2 separate regions of the Homo sapiens genome follow, and region 2 is linked to region 1. Evidence: promoter capture Hi-C in 16 types of primary human blood cells and fetal thymus (Javierre and others, 2016). All regions are on one chromosome and are shown on one strand. The core of a region is centred on a gene start or on the middle of the fragment in contact, and the rest is flanking DNA. Distances in the headings are between cores, read along the strand shown.

Evidence for each region. Contacts are between HindIII fragments. The CHiCAGO score rates a contact against its expected background, and 5 or more counts as called.
Region 2: a fragment that was not itself captured here is called in contact with the fragment with the promoter of LINC03040 in region 1 in 1 of 17 cell types (monocytes); the score reaches 5.2 in monocytes.

What each region holds. Positions count from the first base shown.
Region 1 is chr6:43,999,038-44,001,971 of GRCh38, reverse strand. LINC03040 (long intergenic non-protein coding RNA 3040) reads right to left here and starts at 1,387. Exons shown (of 3, transcript NR_160956.1): 1 at 1,272-1,387. It overlaps SCIRT (stem cell inhibitory RNA transcript), which reads left to right. Exons shown (of 5, transcript NR_125864.1): 2 at 856-929; 3 at 1,257-1,381; 4 at 2,464-2,754. It overlaps LOC124901321 (a long non-coding RNA gene), which reads right to left. Exons shown (of 2, transcript XR_007059591.1): 2 at 2,418-2,934. RefSeq lists an enhancer at 1,131-1,280. The HindIII fragment of the contact is 11,725 bases long and covers 1-2,934 here.
Region 2 is chr6:43,895,763-43,898,696 of GRCh38, reverse strand. The region is part of intron 1 of LINC01512 (long intergenic non-protein coding RNA 1512); the gene reads right to left. All of the region lies in intron 2 of LOC105375070 (a long non-coding RNA gene), which reads right to left. Among named protein-coding and RNA genes, the nearest start is that of LINC01512, 6.2 kb to the right of the region's middle. The HindIII fragment of the contact is 3,034 bases long and covers 1-2,934 here.

The DNA of each region.
Region 1 (2,934 bases), core at 138-2,637:
GACTTATGCTAAAATATTATTCGTTGTTTATCTGATATTCAATTTAATTGGACGTCTTGTATTTTTTTTCCTGGCAGCCCTTGAGGCATTGAAATCTCTAATCCATGTCTGGAAACAGATTGATGGTTCCCGAAAGTCCAGTGGGTATGCCTCATTTGAGAGATCCCTAAGGGCAGGGTCGTGTCTCTCCCCTTACACTGGGAGTTTCCTGAAGCCCAGATACTGAGTTTCACCCTAAAGAAGGCAGCTCTGAGAGCACTATATGTGTCCCCCGTCAGACTGGGAGCTTCCTGAGGACAGGGGCTAAATTTCACCCATGAGAGTAACGCTTCAAGGTCAGTGTCTGTGACCTGTGACACTGGGGTTTCCTGAGGCATGGTCTGTCCGCTTCCTAGAGGGCAAGTCTCTCTCCTCCCTCACGTCTCACTCTCCCACCCCCACCCCACCCCAGGCTGCTGGAGGCTCCTCCTCCATTAGTGTTGCTTCCTGCCCATAGGGGGTGCTAGGGGCCCAGCGGACTGGCCTACGGATGGATGGGACCTGTTTATTGGGACTCGGGGCTTCAGTCCTTCGGGGTTGATGCACTTGAGAATAATGAGGGTGGGGTCCCCAACCTGTGAGGCTTGCTGAGGCAGTTGAGGGCCAGGTCTACTGGGGCCAGAGGCGGTGGCCAGCATGTGGGAGAAGCTCTGGGTGCTGGGTACCCACTGTTTCTTCCAGGAAGGGACAGTGTGGCCCTTGGTACAGAACATCCTGCCCACCTCCTCTCATAACCATTGAAGCCAAGCCCCAGTCCTCCACCAGCCTCTCCAGACCCCACTGCCTAACCTTTGCTTGTGCTGTTCTTTCTGCCAGAAACACTCTGTCTTCCTGCTTTGAGGACAGCTGAAGTCTTGCCACTTCTTCTGGATGCTCTGACCATCAGTAAGGTGGGCTGCTTGTGCCTGGGGGTCTTCTGGTGAAAAGAGCCCTCCATCTACTCCCTCCTTCCTCAACAACTTTGGCCACAGGGGCCAAAGAGGGGGCCAAGGTGGGGGAGGGGAGAGACAGGAACATTGGGGGAGCATAGGCAGAAGGGGAGTAAGAATAGGAACCTCCTTCCCCCCAACCCATCCCCCTGAAGCCCCTTCACAAGTCCCTTCATCCCCTCAGGGCCTCTGAACTCTTTCTCCTTGAAGCTGAGGGAAGCCCTGGAGAAGCGCTTTCCCACGGTCACAGCCTCAACAAACCCCTGCCCCCTTCTCCTTTGACTGCAGCCACCTCAGTCTCACCCTCCGCAGAATGCAGGCCCACTCCGTTGCTGAAGGGCCTCCTCCTTGGGCCAGGGCGCCTGCTTCTGCCAGTGGCATCATCACCCCACTCCTCAGCCGCCAGTCATCAGGTTGGCAATTAGCTACTTCCTCTCAGCTGCATGAGGCCACCAAACGTCACAGCCCCTCCCCTGGCCTGCCGCGGCGGGAGTGCTGGGGGCTGCCCCTACCCTTTGTAGTCAGTGCCAAGTCCTGGCTCAGTCCCCCTTCCCTACAACCTACTGAGTGCTAGGGTAATGAGCCTCCCATCTAGGGAGCTGAAAGCCTCGCTGCCTTCTCCCCGCTTCAAACCTCCTCCCCCATGTCACCCTATCCCATTGGGTGAGGACACTCCCGCTGCCTGGGTGGGGTGATGCCTGCTCAAGGGCACTAGCAGCCTGGGTGGGGCTTAAGACTCAGGTGTCTCTGTCCCCAGTCACAGGCGGTTTTCACCAGCCCCTTACCTGGGGCCCAGGAGTCTGAACTGAAGATGGTGGCAGTTATTTGGGAAGGGGAGAGAAATGGGGACTCATTCTACAGACCCCCAAACATGCAGGGGGCAGGCCCTTCATGAACACCCACATGGGCTCATTTGCCTGTGTCTAGGCACACACACGGTTACAATCTAGGCAATGTATGCTCCACTGCACTGTACCCACATGTGCCCCAGGTGGGCAAGTAAGCCCACTTGCCCAGATACCTCTCATGCCCACACATCCCTCCTCCAGGTGTGTGCATGCAAACTCACTGACATACAGTACTCAAAAAGGCAGTGAGCTTGCTGCCACACCAAAAACAAAACCGGGACCCTACAGAGGAATCTAGAAGCATGGGAGGGAAGGAGAGACCACCCCAACACTCGCTACCCCACAGACCAGGGAATCTTCCTGGGGAAGGATGGGAGGAAGTCTGCACTTCAGGGATATGTGTGGGGTACGCAGGTGGGCCGTGGTGGAAGCAGTTGTGTTGGAGTCTGGGTTGGGGGTGGAGGATGTGGATTTCCAGAGAGAATTGAAAAATTCCAACACATATAAACAAAGGCATGTGATCTTAGGCAGATCACTTAACTTCTTGGGGGCCCCAGTGACTGCATCTGTAAAATGGGAATAATGAGAACACCATTTAAACTTGGTTGTCAAATTTATTTTATTTTTATTTATTTATTTATTTTTAGAGACACGGTCTGACTTTGTTACCCCGGCTGGAGTGCAGTGGTGCAATCATGGCTCACTGCAGCCTTAACCTCCTGGGCTCAAGTGATCCTCTCGCCAAGGCTAGGATAAGTAGCTAGGACTACAGATGCGCCCCATCACGCCCAGCTAATTTTACAACTTCTGTAGAGATGGAGTGTTGCTGGGTTGCCCAGGCTGGTCTTGAATTCCTGGGCTCAAGCGATCCTCCTGTGTCCGGAATTGGTGGGTTCTTGGTCTCACTGACTTCAAGAATGAAGCCGCGGACCCTCGCGGTGAGTGTTACAGTTCTTAAAGACAGCGTGTCCAGAGTTTGTTCCTTCTGATGTTCAGATGTGTTCAGAGTTTCTTCCTTCTGGTGGGTTCGTGGTCTCGCTGGCTTAGGGGTGAAGCTGCAGACCTTCGCGGTGAGTGTTACAGTTCTTAGGGCGGCGCGTCTGGAGTTGTCTGTTCCT
Region 2 (2,934 bases), core at 259-2,758, 100 kb after region 1:
TAGAAGTCACTCTCTCACACACATAAAGATTCAAGTAGGTAGTCCAGGGATGATACAGTGACTTAATGGTGTTGGGGATCCAGGTTCCTTCAATCTTGTTGCCCTGCCTTCCTCAATGTGCAGTTTTCATCATGTAGTCCAAAATGACTGCTACAGCTCCTGCCATCACATTTGCATTCCAGCCAGAGGGAAGAGGGAAAGATGAAAGGGAATGCTCCCTCCTTGCCATCCCATTGGCCAGGATCTAGTCACAAGCTAGATCTAAATACAAGGGAAGCAGGAAAATATAGTCCTTAGTGGACAGCTTTGTGTCCAACTAAAACTTTCATTCATATATTAATAGAAGAGGAGAAGAACAGATACAAAGCAACAAATGATGGTCTCAGCCACAGGAAACAAATGTCCAACCCCAGGATATTTTGTCTGCTAATCTTGAGAGTTAGGAGGGACCATATTTCTCACATCAAGAGTAAAGATTTTTAAAGCAGTGTGAAACTGTGGCTCATGATATGAGGAGATGGGGCCCTGGTGAGTGATAATTGGCCCGTGCTTTGCACAGTCAGGAGCTAGGGAGCCAGCTTCCTTCCTAGGGAGCCAGCAGAGAGGAGCACTATTTCCCACCTCTTCTATCAGTCTCATTGGCAGCTCCCATGGGCAGCTCCTGATTATCTCTAGGGCCTGGCAGAGAAGGGTCCCCTGAGAAGCCACCCACAGTTCCAAAGAAGAGTCCATGAACTAACCACCATGACCCAAAACACTAGTCATTTCCTGGCTCCCAGGGGCTGTGATGGAGCTCTGGATTTCAGAGGCCAAGGTCATGGATGGGATCCCACAAGTCAACCTGAATCCCTGGCTTCAGAGAGCACCACTCACTACCCCTCTCTCCCCAGCCCCCACAACTGGGAACAGCTGGCCCCTGAGCGGGTAGCTCAGTGCAAAGCTATCTGGCTGCTGAATGAAGGCTGACCTCATAGCTGCCTGCCATCCCTGCCCATAGGAGCTTTTCCTGCCTCAGTTCTGGCTGCCCTAAACACCTGTCTCTCCCTGGGCCCAGAGCCTTCACTGTCTCTGTCAGCTGCATAGGACTTTGTAGCATGTCACCTCCTGGACTTCACATTCCTTCATGGAAGGCTCCAAACTTCAGTGCTAAAGTAATGGGCACTTTGTTACTTATGGGGTCTAGGGATAGAAGATGGGAGAGGATCTTTAGCCTTCTATAAGTAAGGGGACGACACATTTTCACAAAGAGAGATGTAGGTATAGAAGTTTTGTTTCTGGGGACTTGGAAGCAAAGGTGTGCACACAGTCAGCCCAGAATTGGGACAACAAAAAAGCCTCAGACCAACAAAGACATGGGATGCAGCTCAAGAATGAGTCCCACAATATGAGCAGCAAATCAGGGTCCCTGAAAACTCTTCTAGGTTGATTCATTCATTCAGAAGGGGCCAGGCAGGAGAGGGCAAACTCAGAGATTCTCTGGCTGGAGAAGTCGCTGCTAATGACTGTCTAGTTCAAGCAACATGCCAGGTTGTGATGGAGAAGAAGCAGGCTCTTAGAAACACTGATTAGGAAGCCCGTCAAAGCCTGCTAGGCATTAGGGACAAAGAAAAAGCCATTTAGTGAGACATCATCCTCACTCCGCCTGCAGCCCCTCTCCGCATACTGTTGTTCTGTCTGGCATTAATATCTGTAAGATATACAGCATGACCAAGATGGGCAAAGAGGCAGACAATGCACACATAAAGAAAGGAACACAGAAACACATTCAGCCTCACAAATAATCAAAGAAAGGCAAATGCAAATAGGCGGCGCTTGATCTTAGCCAAAAGGCTGAGACACAATGAAATGCTAAGAAGTTAGATTTATACCAGTTACATTACTTTTTAATATTTTCCAGCAAAGTCCAATGCTGGCACATCAAAACAGTTCCTCCACCGGCCCTCTTGGCCCAGCATCCTCTTCTGGCATTCCTTGCCCGACCTCATCCCCTATCACAGCTGATTGGGCCTGGACTTCTAGGGTTCCAAGACATAGGAGGGGCTGAGCCAATCAGATTCTCCCTCTTCAAAATTTGAACTCAGAGACCCAGAAATGATGGGCTGGCCTGTTGTGGGTGGATGTGGCATCTCCATATTCCCGGGGAGACTGGTATAGGTCGTGAGCACATGTTTAAAGAGAGAGAGAGGTCAGTCACGTGGGACTTGTTCCCATCAGTTACTGACTGTGCATCTTTGAACAAGTGACTTAGTTTTTCCATATTTTAGTTTCTTCATCAGTAAAATGGTGATAATTATAATTCCTACCCCAGAGGCTAGTTGTGAAAATTAAGATAATCAATGTGAGCAATTGGCATGGTGCCTAGGACAAAGCAAGCCCTCAGAAAATGTGAGCAGTTATATGCTCCGAACTGATAGCTCTGCTAGGTCAAAAATAAATAAAGATAGAGAAAGAGAGATGGAGCAGAGAAAGCAGAGAAGCTGAAACAAAGCAGACCCCTGGGAGCTTGAGGCAGCTGTTTGAGCTCTGGTTGGCTCTCAGTTCCGATTTCCCTGAAGCCTGACTGTACTTGGCTCCCAGTGTGGATGTATCCTCACATTAAACCCTCCTTCATTTACTTTTGGAAAGCAACTTGGCAAACCACATCAAACAGCATAAAAACAGCCTTACCCCCCGACCTGGCCACTTATCTTACAGAAATAATTAATAAGAAGGAAAAAGCCACATGCACAAAGATGTCCATGACCGCCTTATTTATAATAATGACAAACTGGAAGTCATCAAAAGCCCAACAACCAGGGAATAGAAAAGTCTTGGATGGAATACTATGCAGCCATTAAGAATGACAAACATGAAGACCACATAGCAACATAAAAATGTTTATAAAATAAGTTTAAAAGAACAGAACACAAAATTGTGACAGATTTAGATTACGTT